Linked DNA regions of Homo sapiens: all the other regions are linked to region 3. The links are contacts of gene promoters, found by promoter capture Hi-C in blood cells and fetal thymus (Javierre and others, 2016). All regions are on one chromosome and are shown on one strand. The core of a region is centred on a gene start or on the middle of the fragment in contact, and the rest is flanking DNA. Distances in the headings are between cores, read along the strand shown. Region 1 overlaps SLC30A5 (solute carrier family 30 member 5). Region 2 holds the start of LINC02198 (long intergenic non-protein coding RNA 2198). Region 3 holds the start of MRPS27 (mitochondrial ribosomal protein S27).

Evidence for each region. Contacts are between HindIII fragments. The CHiCAGO score rates a contact against its expected background, and 5 or more counts as called.
Region 1: a contact is called between a fragment that was not itself captured here and the fragment with the promoter of MRPS27 in region 3, in 1 of 17 cell types (non-activated CD4 T cells). The highest score is 6.0, in non-activated CD4 T cells.
Region 2: a contact is called between a fragment that was not itself captured here and the fragment with the promoter of MRPS27 in region 3, in 1 of 17 cell types (total CD4 T cells). The highest score is 7.7, in total CD4 T cells.

What each region holds. Positions count from the first base shown.
Region 1 is chr5:69,102,465-69,106,877 of GRCh38, reverse strand. It overlaps SLC30A5 (solute carrier family 30 member 5), which reads right to left. Exons shown (of 16, transcript NM_022902.5): 3 at 3,750-3,816; 4 at 2,162-2,247. Among named protein-coding and RNA genes, the nearest start is that of SLC30A5, 11 kb to the right of the region's middle. The HindIII fragment of the contact is 4,406 bases long and covers 142-4,413 here.
Region 2 is chr5:69,027,645-69,031,893 of GRCh38, reverse strand. LINC02198 (long intergenic non-protein coding RNA 2198) reads left to right here and starts at 1,967. Exons shown (of 4, transcript NR_130778.1): 1 at 1,967-2,106. The HindIII fragment of the contact is 1,155 bases long and covers 1,301-2,455 here.
Region 3 is chr5:72,318,127-72,322,017 of GRCh38, reverse strand. MRPS27 (mitochondrial ribosomal protein S27) reads left to right here and starts at 1,778. Exons shown (of 11, transcript NM_015084.3): 1 at 1,778-1,869. The coding sequence starts at 1,797. It overlaps PTCD2 (pentatricopeptide repeat domain 2), which reads right to left and starts at 1,645. Exons shown (of 10, transcript NM_024754.5): 1 at 1,509-1,645. The coding sequence starts at 1,635. RefSeq lists enhancers at 1,447-1,656, 1,717-2,046, 1,645-2,185, 2,186-2,727. The HindIII fragment of the contact is 19,626 bases long and covers 1-3,891 here.

The DNA.
Region 1 (4,413 bases), core at 1,095-3,594, 3.2 Mb after region 3:
AAAAAAGTTGAAAAAAAATTAAAAACAGAAAAAAAGCTTACAGAATAAGGATATAAAGAAAAAATATTTTTGTACAGTTGTACAATGTGTTTATGTTTTAAGCTGTTTTTACAAAAGAGTAAAGTATGCTAAGGTTAAGCTTCTACCTCCTGAGGTCAGGTGATCTCTTCCACCTCAGCCTTCTAGGTAGCTGGGATTACAGGCACGCAGCACCATGCCTGGCTAATTTTTTGTAGAGATGGGATTTTGCCATGTTGTCCAGGCTGGTCTCGAACTTCTGGGCTCAAGCTATCTGCCCACCTCGGCTTCCCAAAGTGCTGGGATTAAAATTTTTGCAATTGAGAAACTGCATAATGGTTTTAGTAGAAGAATGAGAGGGCAGTGTTGGTAGTGATAAGGTCAGGAGCTAGATGACTAAATAGGGAACCAAGTAAAGATGTAAGTACTTCCTCTTTCCCTCCTTATTGTAACACAAAAGGACAGTGATATAGTAACACAGGAACCAAAACATAATTTCATGAATAACAAATTTAAAATATTACAGATGATAAGCAATAGCAGCACTCAATCATATTCAAGCATACGGTGAAAAACCTCTTCCCAAGCTAGGAAATTCAGCTAGCTTTCTCAGCCCTCCAAGCTGCAGCTGCTACTGTGGCTAGAGATATGACATTTCCAATTATACCTACTCTGCATCTGACAAAGTACATGACAAACAAGTCAAAGGGATCCCAATCCAGAAGCTATTCTATTGGCCATGAGAGGGGAAAGGACTTTTCACAAAGCATTTCCACATTTCTCACCCTTCACTTTCCACTCTGTCTACCCCACTATTCTGAGTGAGATCCTTTAGAACAGTGGTCCCCAACCTTTTTGGCACCAGGGTCTGGTTTCCTGGAAGACAATTTTTCCAGACAGCAGTGGTGGGGGGATGTTTTAGGACATAACTGTTCCACCTCAGATCATCAGACATTAGATTCTCATAAGGAGCATGCAACCTAGATATCCCTCCCATGCACAGTTCACAACAGGGTTCCTGCTCCCATGAGAATCTAATGCCATTGCTGATCTGACAGGAGGTAGAGCTCACGCAGTAATGCTTGCTCCCCCGTGGCTCACCTCCTGCTCTGTGGCCTGGTTCCTAATGAGTTATGAACCCATACTGGTCTATAGCCAGGGGGTGGGGGATCTCTCTGCTTTAGAACATTCTTTTTTTTTTTGAGACGGAGTCTCGCTCTGTTGCCCAGCCTGCAGTGCAGTGGCGTGATCTCGGCTCACTGCAACCTTCGCCTCCTGAGTTCAAGTGATTTCTGGCTAATTTTTGTATATTTTTTAATAAAGGCGGGGTTTTGCTATGTTGGCTAGGGTGGTCTCCAACTCGTAACTTCAAATGATCCACCCCTTGGCCTCCCAAAGTGCTAGCATTACAGGCGTGAGCCACAGTGCTGGCCAAGAACATTCTTCATTTCACTCCTTACCTCTCATTCTCACGGCAAGGCATTTTTTCTTACACTTATTCACTAAGTAAAATCCTTTACAGATGGGGAAATGTTAAAAGAATGCTCATACACAGCTGCATGATACAATTCCTATCAATGGTCCCTAAGCATTTCCTCCTTAAACCAGTCCACTTGCAGAAAAAGACTAATCTATATAGATCTAGGGAAATATGAAATGGGAGTAGTTTACTTTATCCACCACGCATTTAATCTGATAATTGATATACTACTTCTGAGACATTTATTTATGAGAGTATTTGCAAAATTGTGCAAAAAATGAGTGCTTTTAGAGATTTTTGTTCTCCTTCTTATTGGCTAATTTTATTTACCACTTCAGACCTTTTATTATAGCTTCTAAGCTGTTAACAGGGATCATGAATAAATGATTAAAAAGCCGTTTATGCTAAAAATTTTCTGAAACTTGGAATTCTAACTAGTAAAATATCTATGACAAATCATGAATAAATATATTAATGGTATTCACTAAAGAACTAGTCCAGAAACTAAACAGGTTTGTTCTATCTGTTGAATTCTCTCTGATGCTATAAAAGTGCTAGACACATTTGTACAGATAAATATTTGACGTAAAACACAGTGGAACAAAAATAATATTCAAAATGAAGAAATACAAACACACATTCAAAATATGCATTTTTATTTACCTTAGTGGTCCACAAAGAGTGAGGCCAAAAAACCACAAGAGTGAAATAATACACCCAGCAACTGCATGTTTAAATATTTTGATCCACTATAAATGGAAACAAAAAAATTAAAAATTTCAGTCACATATATTTTGCTATATATCCAAATTTTAAATAAAATACAGAAAGATAATAATAACAAATATTTTAAAGGTGAAATCATTACATATTTTGTAAATAGAAAACATAAGATCCCTTGACTAAGTCTAGATTTCCAAGACAGTATTCTTATTCTGGGCCGGGTGCTGTGGCTCATGCCTGTAATCCTAGCACTTTGTGAGGCCGAGGCAGGCAGATCACCTGAGGTCAGGAGTTCAAGACCAGGCTGGCCAATGTGGTGAATGAAGCCCCGTCTCTACTAAAAATACAAAAATGAGCTGGGTGTGGTGGTGGGTGCCTGTAATTCCAGCTACTCAGGAGGCTGAGGCAGGAGAATCGCTTGAACCCGGGAGGCAGAGGTTGCAGTGAGACAAGATCGTGTCACTGCACTGCAGCCTGGGCGATGGAGCAAGACTCTTTCTCAAAAAAAGAAAGAAAAAAAAAAAGGACAGTATTCTGTTTTCCATTATCTATATTCTTGTCTGCTGGTAGATTTTGAAATCTTTTTCTTCAGAGTACAATTTTATGATTTCTCAGTTTCCCACTAGTTTCCTAGGATCATTTAACTTTTTGTCTTTAAATTCTTTTCTACCAGGAATTTTTAGTGATCCAATTATCTGAAAGGAGAGAAAAAAGTTAAAATGGGGTTTAGACTATTAATCATATTTTAAAAAATGTTCTTGGTCTCTGAAACAGAAGTACTTAAATTCGTCTTTCTAATAAAAAAATTATGACGCAGGTTTGTAAGTCATGGCATAAAGCAAACATGTACTATGGTATAACTGCTGCCCAAAGAAGTGACGATGTGAGATGATTATGCAAAATGTAGGACATTTCTAGTTTGAATCACAGCTGCCTAAAGAGAACAGTGACAATGATCATGAGGGTGTCACATTGTCACAATGATGATGAGGCATCATTCTAAGAACTTCATAAGTATTAATTCATTTTTCCTCACAGTTCTGTTAGGAAGTTACTGTTATCTCCATTTTACAGTGAGCAAATTAAGGTAGAGAGAAATCAAGTAACTTGCCCAAAGTAAGGGTCAGTAAGGAGGACAGACAGAACATGACTTTGTCTGACTCCAGAAATCACACTCTTAACCCCTATGCTTTGTCAGCTTTCCAGTGACATTTGTACTAGGCTCTTGGGCATGCTTTCATGTCCAATTTGTAAATCTTTCAGAATAAGAAGTGTGTACTGAAGAAAACAATTACATGAATGCTTTATAATTTTTTTTACCCTCTTGTTTTTTTTAAAAACATTCCATGATCTTAGTACTTTATGATTTAAAGTCTCCATTCTGAAAAGACAAGAGCAAGTTAACTCTAAAATTGTTCTGTGGCATACTTAAATCATTCATTAAGTACCCATTATAAAAAATAAGCATTGCCTCCTGGCCCACTAAACGAGAAGCTGCTAGGAATAAAAGATTCTGCAAAAATCTTACCTGGTGTTTGGTAATAGTTTTCCCAGAAGAAAATGGCTTTTGAAACAAAACCATAAAAAATGCAGTCCTGTAAATATTGAAACATTAATATATTAATATTAATCCATATTAAACACAAGATACAGTTTTAAGTAAAGACACTTATTTTAAACAAATATGCCAGAACTTGAAGTGTTATCCTCTGAATAAATCATACTGGAGAATTAATTATACTTATTTTAGTAAAACTCCTATTGCAATATTTTGATAACTTTTTTTTTTTTTTTTTTGAGATGGAGTCTTGCTCTGTCACCAGGCTGGAGTGCAGTGGCACGATCTTGGCTCACTGCAACCTCTGCCTCCCGGGTTCAAGCAATTCTCCTGCCTCAGCCTCCTGAGTAGCAGGGATTACAGGTGTGCGCCACCACGCCCAGCCAATTTTTCGTATTTTTAGTAGAGATGGTGTTTCAACACGTTGGCCAGGCTGGTCTCGAACTCCTGACTTCAGGTGATCCGCCTGCCTCGGCCTCCCAAACTGCTGGGAAAACAGGCATGAGCTATCACACCTGGCCGAGAACTCTTATTTTCTAACTGTCTTCAGAACCAGCTAACAAGCCACAAAAATAAAGGAGTCACAATTTTTTTTATATCTTAAAATATCAAAGAAGAGAATTCCTATTTTCTC
Region 2 (4,249 bases), core at 629-3,128, 3.3 Mb after region 3:
GGAGTCAGGAGTGGGAAAGAGATTCCTATTCTTTGTATATCCTTTTGTGCTATTGGGATTTTTGCTGTGTGCATGGATTACATTCTAAAAAGATTAAAACATAAGAAAATGTATTTTTAAAAACTACCTCCCCACATTTTTTTTTTTAAAGAGACAGAATCTTGCTCTGTCACCCAGGCTGGAGTGCAGTGGTGTGATCGTGGCTCACTGCAGCCTTGAACTCCTGGGCTCAAGCCATCCTCCTGCCTCAGCCTCCTGAGTAGCTGGGACCACAGGTGTGTGCCACCACATCTGGCTAATTTTTAAATTTTTTGTAGAGATGGGGTTTCACTATGTTGTCCAGGCTGGTCTTGAACTCCTGGCCTTAAGCGATTGTCTTGCCTCAGTTTCCTAAAATGTTGGGATTACAACTATGAGCCACTGTACCCAACCCTATTTTTCCTGGATTTTCTCTTCACTCTTACTTCCTACGTTGCCTTTTCTGTTTTATACAATTTCTGCAATTGCTTGTCTTCCTCTTCCTAAAGTCTCTTCCTATCTCTAATGCTTGCATTTGATTTTAAAGCTGTTCTGGCACACTTGAATAGAATCCTGCATAATAATCTTTCACTAATTTTTCCCCCGACTCCTTATCAAATGTTCACTAAAGTGTATAGTTATTTCTTAGCATATATGCACATACTTGCAAAATAGACCACTATAATCTGCACAATTCTTCTTAAATTCAGCTTTTAAAACATGCCTTTAAATGAAGAAAATATTTGTATAATGAGAATAAATTTTGAAGGTTGTTTCACATTCAAGATTCTTTGAGGTTTTTAACCAGAACAGGTTTGGGGACAACAACTGATGCCTCCTTTAATCACAATACATTTTTAAAAAGTTGAGATTTACTAAAATCTACCTTTCAGGATTTTAAAATGGATGTGCAATCTCCACCACTTTTATTGCCAAGGGAGCACGCATCTGCCCTGGAAAACCTTCCTGTGGAGCGATGTCAGCAGAGATAAATGAATGAGAGTACATGCAGTTCTGGAATAATAGTGCAATTTGGCTAAAGGGTGACATCATCTTTTCACTGTTGTATGTGCCATTCTAAGTAGCAATAAGTCCAGCTGAGCTAGAGAATGAATTATAAGGAAAGTACATTGGCAAGGTGGAATAAAATATAAAAAATTGAAAAAGAAGGTAGCTTTGAATAGATCCAGTCCGCAATATATTTTTTGATATGGAAGGTCTTGATTTAATCACCACATCATAATTTGCCATTATTTTGGATTATGTGGAAAGATGCAAAGCTTCTTTCCTAATGGCTGGTTTGCTATATATACACATGTGTACCACCAGAGTATAAATAGGGACGTTGGAATTGATTTTAGTCTTTAAAGTGTACACTTAAATGCTGGAAAATAAAATGCCTTTATCAGTTAAATCTCCTTACTGTGATTCTACATGCCTCATTGGTAACACTTGAAGAAGGGTTTGCTGGGTTTTATTTGGATCGAGAAAAGAATGCCATCATCCTTCATGCTGATGAACCCAGGGGAGGATCAGTTTGTGATTCTGCATGGGTTCTTGAGGGGTCGGCCAGTATTAACTCATTGCTTTTTTTCTCTTTAAGTAACAGCTTTATTGAGATTGGATTAACATCCCAATATATTGCTTCTGTTCTCTAATTTTTTAGAGTGCAACTCAAACCCCTAATATCTCCTTGTCTTCTAATTCCTCAGGCAACAGATGACTTTCTGCAAAGGCACTGATAATAGCTATGAGGAATAAATATTGCAGATGGATTAAATCAAAGAATCAAATTTCAAAGCCAAATTAGTCGTGAAAAGGAGGGAGAAGCAGAAATGAAGAAAAAAGAACCACAGAAGTAAAATCAGCAGCATTGAAAAGAAAATCATCTGCTGTTTGAATAAAGACCCAAGATCTTTCATTGTTGGATCCCCAAAGCCAGTGCCTTTTTTGAGCAGCAAGTCCCAAGATCAAGAAATCAGAAGGAACTAATACTTTAACTAATTAGTAGTAATGAAAATTTACTAGACATCAATGACAAATTTACAAGGCAAATTTATTTCCAAAGTACATTCATATATATCACAGGTAAAATGAGGTTTTCACAAACACCATTTTAAACATAGGGTTTATTTGCAGGAGCTATTTTTGTGGCTTAGGGAACAAATGGTTCATTGAAACAGAACTTTGCTGGTCTGGTTTCAAAGAATTCTATTATATAAAAGATTCTGTAGAACAGATGGGATCAAAAGTCCCTGAACACAGAACAGGAATATCAGGTAATGAAAATGTTCTTTTGGTATAGTATTATGTTTTATGCTTTGAAAGTATTAGTATGCAAGGAACTCAGGCAAGAGCATAAAAGAGGAAGTAGGAATAATACTTTATGTTTGAATAGGCTTTAGACTTTCCAAAATACTTACATCCTACTGAAGCTTGGTAGCAAGTATTATCCTTGTTTTATTGATGAAAAACATGCTTCCAAGAAAGATGCATTACAAGCGACAGAAAACTCAAAGTGGATTACACAGTAAAAGGTATCTGTCTCTCTGTCTGTCTCTGTCTCTGTGTTTTGGCTCACAGAATTGAAAAGTTCAGGACTAGAGTGAGCTTTCAATGTGCCTTGAAAGAGATGTTCGATTGATACCATCAGGGCCCAGATTCCCTTGACATCTCTTAGTTCTGTTTTCCTAGTATGTGGTTAACTCTGATTAGCCAGGATGGAGACAATAACTCCTGAGCTAAATATGTGGAGTGGGGCAAGGATGGCCCTCTACAGGCGAAGGTGGGGGTGCATTTTAATATGAGTATGGGGGAAAGGATCAGATCTGGGCTAGATCTGATATTCAAGAGGTGTAAACAGATGACCAACAAGATGTTAACAAGATGACACGATTAGAAAGATTTTAATCAAGCCTAGAACCCAGCTCCTCTGAATCCTGGCAAAACATAGGTAGGAACAAAACTGGGAAACAAGACAAGGGATGTCCCAGGAGCTGATGTTTCAGTAAGAGCATAGTTGAGAAGAGACAGAAGAAAACAATAGTTAACAGAGGTAGGTGGATTTAGAAAGAAGGCTTTACTTTGAACAAGACTTGATCCCAGTTGAGACTTTGCTGAAGGAATCCCTAATAGACAGACCTGAGCCACCTCCTTCCTTTGTCATATATATGTATCTCATAGGCATCTTACAAATATGATGACTGCTCTATAAATAACCGAGAAATCTTAGTTTCTGGATCTTACCCTGGCCCAACTCCAAATTATCTTCTTTGGTTTTAGCTGGATCTTTAGGAAGACTGGTCTGCCTAATTTTGTTGCATCTCATTGTGCCCTATTTGCCAGGCCGCTTTGATAAGGAGATCTTCATATAATTCCTTTCTGTGTTGCTGCCCTGTCTTCCATGTTTAGAGTTCGAATCCTCCTTTTCTAATAGCTGAAACACACCCAGATCAAAATAAGCTTCATTAAGGCGGCATTCTACAAAGACAGTGGTTCTCCAATGGTGGTCCTCAGATTACCTGCATTTTTTTTGATGCCTTGTGGAAATAGAAAAACACCCAAACATCACCTGTTTCTTGAAGTTTGGTGGAACTCATTGAATACAACTCTCTTAGGCCAGATGCCACTTTAGAAATTATGTCATTGATTACATTTTCAACTTTTTTTTTTTTTTTTTTTTTTACAGTGCTTGATCTATTCACATTTTCACCTAATAGGTTTATTTAACTCAGGACTTTATGGGGTTGAGAAAAGCACTTTATTATGAGAAGAATATGTAGGTTATTTAACAGAGTCACCTGCAGCAGTCAATATACAATAAACTATAATGATACACAGTAGTTCTAAGGTCAGCCTTGCTATTCATATTATTTTCCAGGATCACTTCACTGAGGAACTGAACACGAGCATTTAACTTGTGTGACTAGTTATGGCCTGGTCTGGATTTCCTTCTGTAGGTATTGTCTTGTTCTTGTCTCAGCCTTTTCTTGCTTCCAAGGCCTTACTCATAAATTCTAATCTTTGCTTATGCAGTCTTTAAGTATTGTGTTTTCCTCTATTGATTTCATGGAAGGCTTCCCTCTAATGTAGCATACATTGGCCCTGCCTGTGCAAAGCTTCTTTTCTCTCCAACAAGCAGGAGACTTGTGTCTTTAGCTCTTTTTCTGCAAGAGCTGCACTCTCCCGTTCTCTTGTGGCCATGGCAGATGATTTCTCGTCACCTCCTCCC
Region 3 (3,891 bases), core at 529-3,028:
TGGGAAAAACAATTTCTGAACTACCAGAGAATGCAAATCCTCAGCAAAACAGGTTTTATTTGTGTGTGTGAAAGAAGCTAGTGATTAACCGTAGCTAGTGATAAACCTGTGTGGGGACTGGTTGACAGGAAGTTGGGATTTGAAGTACAAATGGGCATTTGCCATCGGTTAAGGGTATCAAGGGCATTTAAAAAAAAAACTAATAACATTTAAATGCAAAACAGGCATATTTAGTTTTGGTTTATCCAGGGAGAAGCACAGTGTAGTGGAAAAAGCTGCAGCATGACCACTGGAACTCCCAGTTTTGTCCTCTGTGAAATGAGGGGGTTAAGGCCTCTCAGATGTGGACTCAAAATACATTTGAGATACATGGAAATCATTGATCACAGCTTAGTAGATTTGGGAAACATCATCCTTTCTTTAGGATCCTTGGCTGTGCATGAGATAAAACGGACCAAGCGTGGCCGAAGAATCACGCACTAACAGAGTTCTGTGAGCTGCAGTAACAAGGTAACAATAAAAGTTGCTATTTATTTACAGAAAGGCAGTCCAGTGAAGTGGTTAGGAGCAGGTTTCTATTGTTGGGTGTGTTCAAATCCCACCTCTAACAGTTCCCTCTGACTTTGGGCAAATTACTTAACCTTGTTCCTCCTCTGTAAATGGAGAAAAGAATGGTACTTCTCTTGCTGGGTGTTGTCTAGAGAAAAGGAATTAATGTATGTAAACTACATTAAAGTAATGCCTGACAAACATTTTTACTATCACTCACTAGCATCTTCAGATTTAACTCTCTTCATAGAGATGTTAGAGGATAGTTTTGAAAAATGAAGAAACGTGCCGTTAAGTCTTTTAGATTGTTAGCAGAACTGAGACTCCATAAGACCTCTGCTTCCAAACTCTGCAGAAAAGAAAAAGGCCGGGCGCGGTGGCTCACTCCTATAATCCCAGCACTTTGGGAGGCCGAGGCGGGTGGACCACGAGGTCAGGAGTTCGAAACCAGCCTGGCCAACATAGTGAAACCCGTCTCTACTAAAAATACAAAAAATTACCCGGGCGTGGTGGCGCACGCCTGTAGTCCCAACTACTCGGAAAGCTGAGGCAGGAGAATCGCTTGAACCCGGGAGGCGGAGGCTGCAGTGAGCCGAGATCGCGCCACCGCACTCCAGCTTGGGCGACAGAGCAAGACTTCGTCTCAAAAATAAATAAATAAATAAATAAAAGTCACCCAAGGCGGGAGGGATGTTCCTGAAGACGAACGTCGCCCCATCTGAGGGAGCACTACAGCCCCAAGGTCAATACCCCAGCAGTCCTTCGATTTGCAGGCACTGGGGGTATCCACGACCCCCAGTGGTCACCACTGCACCCACGTGCAACTAGAGGGCGAGGGTGCGCTCCAGGCCAGTGAGTGACTTAGGAGCTGTGGCTGCTCCACAGAGATGCTAGCTGGGATCTAACACTCCCTTCTCTCCCATCCCTCCCCTCCTTCCCTAGGCTAAAGCCGCGGATACCTCCGAGAGGGCAGCGGCAGCTGACAGAGCCGGAGCCTCCCACCCCAGGATACACCAAAATCTGCAGCGCCTGCAGGAGAACTCGATTCGAGGGCCGAAATGCAGCAGCCATACTGTCTCGGACCATACCAACTACTGGAACCGGGGCGAGGAGGCGGAGCGTCGGTCCTGTCGTCGAGAGCGACAAAAGGGATTCGTCCAATTCTGGGCGCCCCGAGAGGTCGAGCTGTAACCCCGCCCCTTCCTCTGTCCGTAACCCGTTGGCTGTTCCTTTTGGTACGCTCCAAGATGGCTGCCTCCATAGTGCGGCGCGGGATGCTCCTGGCGCGGCAAGTGGTTCTTCCTCAGCTCTCTCCTGCAGGTTGGCCGGACAGCTTCATTAGGCCCCTGATTATTCTGTTTTTTGGGTGAAGGGAGCGGTGGGCTTTCAAGAGGAGAGGAAACGTTTCTGGAATCTGATTGCTAGGGACGCCATTTGGGGTGTTTGGTAGTGCAGAAGAAGGAGACAAGGTATCTGATCCATTTCCTTCCCTAAAATAACAGTATGTTCCTGTCCAAAGGTACGAAGAGCAGTGGAAGGTTATATAGCATGAGGGAATTTGCGTATGATTCGCCAGATTTATGTGTTGGGGTGGTCGTGCTTTTGCTGACCACGAAAAACCCAAATGTGCGCCGGGCGCGGTGGCCCACGCCTGTGGTCCCAGCACTTTGGGAACGCGAGGCGGGCGGATCGCCAGGAGTTCGAGACCAGCCTGGCCAACAGGGCGAAACCCCATCTCTACTAAAAAATACAAAGAAATTATCTGGGCCTGGTGGCGCGCGCCTGTAATCCCAGCTACTCGGGGGGCTGAGGCAGGATAATCGCTTGAACTCGGGAGGCGGAGGTTGCAGTGAGCAGAGATCGCGCCACTACACTCCAGCCTGGGCAACAGAGCGAGACCCTGTCTCAAAAAAAAAAAAAAAAAAAAAAAAGGAAAAACCTAAATGTGTCCATTCCTGGGGCTGGGACATTTTTCTCCCATCTGAGGTTTCTTTAGAGGGACGTCAGATAAACATTTTTCCCACCACCACACATTTAGCTGGACCCCTGGTCTTCGTGGAAGAATTTTTCAGTATTAATCTCATTTTATCTGATGACCTAGAGCACAACTTTTGATTGACCTTTCTTTGCTATAGTTTTCCACGTGTAGATAATAAATGCTATTAGTTACTTGTAAAATACTTTGATATCTGAACTAAATGGCAGCCCACTCAAAGCCTGCATAGTGGATCTGATAATGAAAACATTGGAAAAAAGTTTTAAAGTATTTATAGAAGCCAAATTTGCAGTGATTCTAACCACATAATCCAGACAGACATATTTGATAAAAATGCAATAATCACACTCGATTTTTCCATTGCCGCTTATCTTCCCTTTCCAACCTACCTCCCATCCTCTATTTTTTTAAAAAGCACGCACTTCTTTAGGAACAGCCATTAAACGTCAATGTGAAACCTCAGAGTTGGCCACCAGTTTTCTGAAGATTAAGTGGCTGACCTGGTGAAAACGTTTAATGTCACACATTAGGCAGTGTTATGCACAACGCTTGACACCTTAGTAAGAATTAGCTGTTGTAGCTATTTTCTGTTTATGTGGTTTCCGTGAACAACTACACACAGAGGGCATTTTGGGAGACCTGTCTTTCCCCACAATCACCTCCCCAGCCTTTTTTTTTTTTTTCGGGTTTCGTTCTTGTTGCCCAGGTTAGAGTGCAATGGCACGATCTCGGCTTACTGCAGCCTCTGCCTCCCGGGTTCAAGTGATTCTCCTGCCTCAGCCTCCCGAGTAGCTGAGATTACAGGCATGCGCCACCACTCCCGGCTAATTTTGTATTTTCAGTAGAGACGGGGTTTCTCCATGTTGGTCAGGCTGGTCTCTAACTCCTGACCTCAGGTGATCCACCCGCCTCTACTTCCCAAGGTGCTGGGATTACGGGCGTGAGCCACTGTGCCCAGCTGGCCCAGCTTTTTAATCTCCCAGTTCAGAACTCTTGAGCAATGATCTAGATATTGTCCTGACTCCAGAATGTAGAAAGGTGATTACTTATGCTAGAATGAAGCATATGCTAGAATGAAGGCATAGAGAATAACAGATAATAAATAGAGAGTAAGCAAGTAGCTGGTATGCGGGAGTACAGTTGGCTTCCTTATCCGAGCATTCTGCATCTGCAGAGTCAACCAACAGCGGATCAAAATACTACAAAACAAAACAAAAACTAACAATAAAAAATAATACAACAGTAAAATAATACAAAGAAAATACAACATGACAACCACTTACATTGCGTTTACATTGTGTTAGGTATTATAAGTAATCTACAAATGACTTAAAGCAGCTTGTCCA